2 separate regions of the Homo sapiens genome follow, and region 1 is linked to region 2. Evidence: promoter capture Hi-C in human tissues and cell types (Jung and others, 2019). All regions are on one chromosome and are shown on one strand. Each heading gives the region's core, a stretch centred on a gene start or on the middle of the fragment in contact. The rest is flanking DNA. Distances are from core to core; before and after follow the strand shown.

Region 1 (2,829 bases), core at 103-2,602, 550 kb before region 2:
CAGTGGTTATCAAGGGATGGAAGGAGGAGGGAAAGGACATTTATTTTTATTGGGTATGAAGTTTCAGTTTGGAATGATGAAAAAGTTCTGGAGATAGATGATGGTCATGGTTCTACAACAATACGAATGTACCTAATGCACCTGAACCATACACTTAATATTAAGATGGTAAATTTTATATTATGAATATTTTACAATTAAAAAAATCCCCCAATCTATAACATACATTGGGAAAAGTGCATTTTATCTGTATATTCAGTTTAACAAATAATTACTAAGCAAATATATGTAATCACCACCTAGCCCCCAAAATGAAATATTATCAGAGTAACCTGTGTCCCTCCCCATCACAACCCTCTTCCTTCCTGAGTAACCACTATCATGGCTCTAACATTTGCTTTTGAAAATCATATACTGTGATGTGGTAATGCAGGATAAGTTAAATCTACACTACAAAACGCTACAGAATATTTCTTTTAATTTCAATTTTTCCATAAGTGCCAAAAAAAAAAAAAACAAACCCACTTAATAACTTTTAAGTGCTCTTTCTCCCCTTCCTTTGCTCTTGAAACTTCTCATTCTAAAACCTATTTTGGTTCCACAGTTGACCTCACCTGCAGAGTTTAATTAAAAAAAAAAAAACCTTCAGTGTAAATTTTCATTCCTCCTGCTCTCCCTTGCCTCCAACTACAAAGAAACAATGATTTAAACCCTTTGTGCCCTTTTAGAAAATTACACAGATACCCCATTGTGGAACCCTATAATCCCTTCGTGGAAAGGAAGAGATTAGCATATGAATACAAAGCAAAATGAATCCAGAATACAAAATGATCTACTGGATTGTGAAGCTCTTGTATGCTTAAAAATGTATTTATTTCCTCTTTTTGTATTGCCCCTTTAGTGGTCTCGGGGTTAAGGGAATTGAGCTTCCCTTTCTGGTTACCCGGAAAAGGATTAAAAACAAAACAAAACAAAAAACAAAAAAACACCAGATTCTAAGAGGTGCAAAGCCAGCAGATGGCTCACAGCACCAGTGGAATCGCCAGTGGAATCTGCTACCCTCGACACGAGCCTGCTTGCCGGCGAGGAGTGTAGAAAGTGCTGTTCACAGACTGCGTGGTGAAGGAGAGAAAGCGACAGAAGAGAGAGCCATAGTGCTGACGTTGAAGGCCCGGCCCTGTGAGGTTGCACAGGGTAAGTGGCGTTGGCCAGGCGGCAGCGGCGAAGGGGAAGGAAAGAGGATTTGAGCTGGGGGCGGGGCTTGCGGCACAGCGTGGCTCCTGATTGTTGGAGTGCGGCTGCCAATCTCGCAGAATCGCTCGGTTAACCAGTGCGCTGGCGAGACGCGCTCAGATATACTGAGTGAGCCCTGAGAAGCAGTCTCAGATCCTGACGGTGCAGCAGCCCGCAGCCTCAGCCAGGGAGTCCCAGCCGCTTTCAATGGAGGAGAAGCCCGGCCAGCCACAGCCTCAGCACCATCACAGCCACCACCATCCGCACCATCACCCTCAGCAGCAGCAGCAGCAGCCGCACCACCACCACCATTATTATTTCTACAACCACAGCCACAACCACCACCACCACCATCATCACCAGCAGCCTCACCAATACCTGCAGCATGGAGCCGAGGGCAGCCCCAAGGCCCAGCCAAAGCCGCTGAAACATGAGCAGAAACACACCCTCCAGCAGCACCAGGAAACGCCGAAGAAGAAAACAGGTCTGGGAGGGAGGACGGGTGGGGGAAGGGGGTTGGGGGTGGAGGACAGGAGAGATGGGGGTGGGGCTGGATCCGAAAAGCGCGGACGGGGTCGGGGTGTGTGTGTGTGTGTCCCCTCCGGCTCTGGGGATGCCCCTTTCATTCTAGAGCTCGGGCTGAGCAATGGGGTTTGCAGCGCCCTCTCCTTCCCTCCAGCATGGGAGAGGCCCAGCCAGGCCAGCGTGACCTTCCTGGCCCCGGCCCCGGCTGAAGGGAGACCTGCTGGGTCGGCCTTGCAAGTCCAACCTCATTATTCTTTTCCCATTCACCTCCCTGCGTCCCTGGAGTTACCTCAATTTGGGGGCCCTGAGATGGGGTAAACCTACCCCCCCAAAAAATCCCTCGAGGTGTAACTCAGGAAGGCCTAGCGAATCCCGACTCGGATGGTGTCGCGAGACCCTTTTGCAGGCGGCGAGGAGTGGGTAGGTAGGGTGAGTTGAGGAAGTGCCCCTCACCCGCCACCCCAAGCCCACCTGTGGCCTTGGGGCTCCCCGTCTCGGTGGGGGGGGCTGTTGGGACCCCTCATCTCACGGGTCATTTCCACCACTAAACGCCCTTTTTGGGCGCCGGACCCCGCAGTCTTGTCCCGCGGCTCCTCCCGAGGCCGGCGCCCCGCGCCCGCTCCCCCCAGAGCCGGCGCGGCTGGAATGTTCTCTCCTCCTCGCGGGGCCGCTTCCTGTCCGCCATGTTGGAAGCCGATTCCTGTCACCGACTCCGGCCCACTGAGGAGCGGAGGGGGAAGGGTGTCGAGGGCCACACGGGGCGGCGGAGCCGGGTGACCCGGGATCACCACCGGCCGCAGCCTCGCCCCCTGCACTGCGGGGGCGCCGGCGCCCCCCGCACCGCGGCCGCCCCCCCCCCCGTCGCCGGCCGGGGTTGTGTAACCCGGTGGCGGCGCGCGGCCCCGGGCGGGTCCCTGGGGTGAGGGGCGGGGGCGGTTGGGGTGGGGGAGGGAAGCGGCCACGAGGGGAGCGGCCTGCGCAGGGCCCCGCGCGCCAGCGGCCGCGTTTCCCGCTCCCGGGTGCGGCGGGAGGCGCGGGCAGTCGGGGCGGGGAGCCGGCCTCGAAGCGGAG
Region 2 (3,055 bases), core at 171-2,670:
AGAGGGCCGGGGAAGAGCAGTGGCGGAGACAATGGGGCTGTGTCTGTAGGAGAGTAAATGTGTACACTGCCGAGGGGGAGGGGGCAGTCCTGCAGCTTGTGCCGGAGCATATGTGAGGGCAGGAGCCGGCCCAGGCTGTGGGGAACAGAAAACAAAGGGCCTGCTGAGATTTCCGCCAGTAGGAGCTACGGAGGACCGAGCGAGGGAGGGAGGCACGGCGGGAGGGAGCACCGGAGGCAGGCGTCTCAGAGGTACTATCCCTGCCAGGCCCTCGATCCCCTCGTCCCAGCAAACAGCCAGGCAGTGGCCGACTCGGCCTTCCCCTGCGCTCTGGGGGCATGACCTCCGAAGAGTCGGGGCTCCTTCACCCTGCTTCCCACACCCGGGCCTGAGGGGTTCCCTGCGTGAGCAGGAGATTCAAGACATACAGGGCGCCCAGAAACTTGATGGATGCCCAAGAGCCAAGGGCTAACCTGCGTCCTGAGAGGGCAGCGGGAGTTCAGTAACAACACGAGTGCGACCCCCTTCTTCATGACTTATGGACCACCCGCCTTACTCCAGCCCCCGGGAGAGAGGGGAGCCGCCTAGAGGGGTCCTTCTTCGGGGGAGGATTCAGTCCTTCCTCCATTGTGTGATCATAAGCAGTCCGGGTTTAAATCCTAGTTAAGCCTTTAAGTAACTATGTGACCCTGGGCAAGTCGCAGCCTTTCTTTGAATCTCGTTTCATGATCTGTGAAATGGGAGAACAATAGCTACCGTTCTCTGAACGTTCGAAGAATCAGAAGAGGTTAGATGGGGGAAAGCTCCGGAGGCTCAAACTGCCACGCGGGAGCGGGTTTTGTCCTCTTCCCCCAGGATTCAAAGTTCAAGGCTGAGGCCGCGCCGGCTCTCAGGTGACGGGGAAGGGCCTCTTCCCCTCCTGACCCCACGAGAAGGCGCCGAGGTCTTCCGCCCCGGGCCGGGCAGTTGGGACCCGCCCGGACCCCTCGGATTCCTGCGGGGGGGGCCTCCCTCGGGGCTTGACGTCATCCCTCCCCGTGACGTCACGGGGCGCCCCTGAGGTCACAGGGTCGCAGCGCAGACAAAGGCCCGCCTTGCCCCGGGCCCGAGACCCTCCCCAGGCGGCGCCCCCCGCCCCGCCCCGCCCCCGCTGTCCCCTGCTCCCCGGCCAGCACCTGAGGAACTCCTGCAGGCAGGTATCGCAGAAACGGTGGCCGCAGGTGGAAACCTGCACAGGCTCGCGCATGGGCTTCCCGCACAGTGGGCACAGCAGCCGTCGCTTGGGCTTCTCCAGGAACTTGTAGTCGAAGCCAGGCATGGCGGGCGAGCGGCCGGCACGGGCGAGCGGGGCCAGGCACGCGGCGGCCCCACAGCCCGCGCCTCGCTGGAGCGGCGCTCCCGGCTCCGGGCGGCGCCGACTGGCGGTCGCGGCCAGGGCTCGGCTGTGAAGCCCGCCCTCCGGAAGAGAGGGCGGACCGCGGCCGCGCGGTCCTAATGCGCGCCCTCGCGGCCCCGCCCACCCCCGAGTGCATGGTTTTTGGGTCTGGTGACCGCCAGTCTCGCCCACCCACGGGATCATGGGCTTTTCTTTCCCCTGGGGGACAGAGATCGTGGCTCCGCTTCTCCCCAGAGCCCGCGGGCCCCGGGGAAGTGCGGGTCGGAAAAGGGGACGGGCCGCGCCACAAAGGTTTTCTTCTCCAGAGGCAACAGCTCGGCCTCCGGGGCCGTGAGCAGCCCAGGAACCGTGGCCCCAGCTTCCAGGTGCTAGGCAGCCGAAGCCTGGCAACCAGCTCCGGGGAGCCCAGCTGGGGCGGGGAGGCTGGACTGGGCGCTGGGCCAGAGGAACCTCGGCCCCAGCCTCCGGCTGCGCCCACATTCCTCCCTTGGCCGCAGCCCTGCCACCGAGGTCGGGCCCAGCCCAGTCCTGGGGTGCCTGGTCGCCACCCCCACCCTTGAAGACACCACACTCCAGGCAGGCAGCTGATATTTTTATTGGCCTTCCTGTCCTCTGGGAAACCGGTCTGGTCCCACCAGCTACCCATTCTCTCAACTGTTTCTGGGGAAAGGCATGGGGGGGACGGGCAATCTCCAGCGCGGATCTTTTCTGCAGCACTTAGTGACTCCTGCCCTCCTGCTGGGGAAGAGAGGCAAGCCGACGTCTAGCAAATCCTGCCTCAGGATGAAAGTGTAGGGGAGGTGGCAGCACTCCCGGGGACCGCCCAGCCCCGGGCTATGCAGAAGCTAGGCAGGCCTAATGGCCAGTCCAGGCAGGCCCTGGCTTGCCCTGCTCCAAAGTATGGAGATAGAGTCCCGGTAAGCACCAAATACTTTTTTTTTTTTTTTTTTTTTTTTTTTTTTGAGAGGGAGACTTGCTCTGTCATCCAGGCTGGAGTGCAGTGGTGCGATCTCGGCTCACTGCAAACTTCACCTCCCGGGTTCAAGGGATTCTCTTGCCTTAGCCTCCAGAGTAGCTGGGATTACAGGCGCCCGTCACCATGCCTGGTTAATTTTTGTATTTTTAGTAGAGACGGGGTTTCACCATGTTGGCCAGGCTGGCCTCAGTCTACTGACCTCAAGTGATCCGCCCGCCTTGGCCTCCCAAAGTGCTGGAATTACAGGCGTGAGCCACCGCACCCAGCCTTATTTTCTTCTTTTTTTTTTTTTTTGGTGGAGACAGCGGTCTCGCTATGGTCCCCAGGCTGGTCTCCCAACTCCTGGCCACAAGGGATCAAGGGATCCTCCTGGCCAAAGCACTGCCTATGCAGGTGTGAGCCACCGCCGCCGGCCCAGACTTATTTTCTAACTGGGCTAGGGGAAAGGGTAGGGTCTGTGTGGAGCTACAGCTGCCTTCAGCCTTTTTTGTTTTTTTTTTTTTTTTGAGACGGAGTCTGGTTCTGTCGCCCAGGCTGGAGGGGTTTACGCCATTCTCCTGCCTCAGCCTCCTGAGCAGCTGGGACTACAGGCGCGTGCCACCACGCCCAGCTAATTTTTTTGTATTTTTAGTAGAGATGGGGTTTCACCACGTTAGCCAGGATGGTCTCGATCTCCTGACCTC

What was found. Contacts are between HindIII fragments. The study calls those that stand out against the background at their distance.
Region 1: a contact is called between the fragment with the promoter of NUFIP2 here and the fragment with the promoter of TRAF4 in region 2, in 1 of the 25 tissues and cell types used here (dorsolateral prefrontal cortex).

The regions. Positions count from the first base shown.
Region 1 is chr17:29,292,671-29,295,499 of GRCh38, reverse strand. NUFIP2 (nuclear FMR1 interacting protein 2) reads left to right here and starts at 1,352. Exons shown (of 4, transcript NM_020772.3): 1 at 1,352-1,717. The coding sequence starts at 1,441. RefSeq lists enhancers at 984-1,183, 1,494-1,593, 1,287-2,047 and silencers at 1,754-1,873, 2,504-2,683. The HindIII fragment of the contact is 16,686 bases long and covers 1-2,829 here.
Region 2 is chr17:28,742,376-28,745,430 of GRCh38, reverse strand. TRAF4 (TNF receptor associated factor 4) reads right to left here and starts at 1,420. Exons shown (of 7, transcript NM_004295.4): 1 at 1,176-1,420. The coding sequence starts at 1,318. NEK8 (NIMA related kinase 8) reads right to left here. Exons shown (of 15, transcript NM_178170.3): 15 at 1,976-3,055. RefSeq lists silencers at 942-1,141, 1,162-1,571, 2,026-2,320 and enhancers at 2,026-2,320, 1,344-2,344. The HindIII fragment of the contact is 18,595 bases long and covers 1-3,055 here.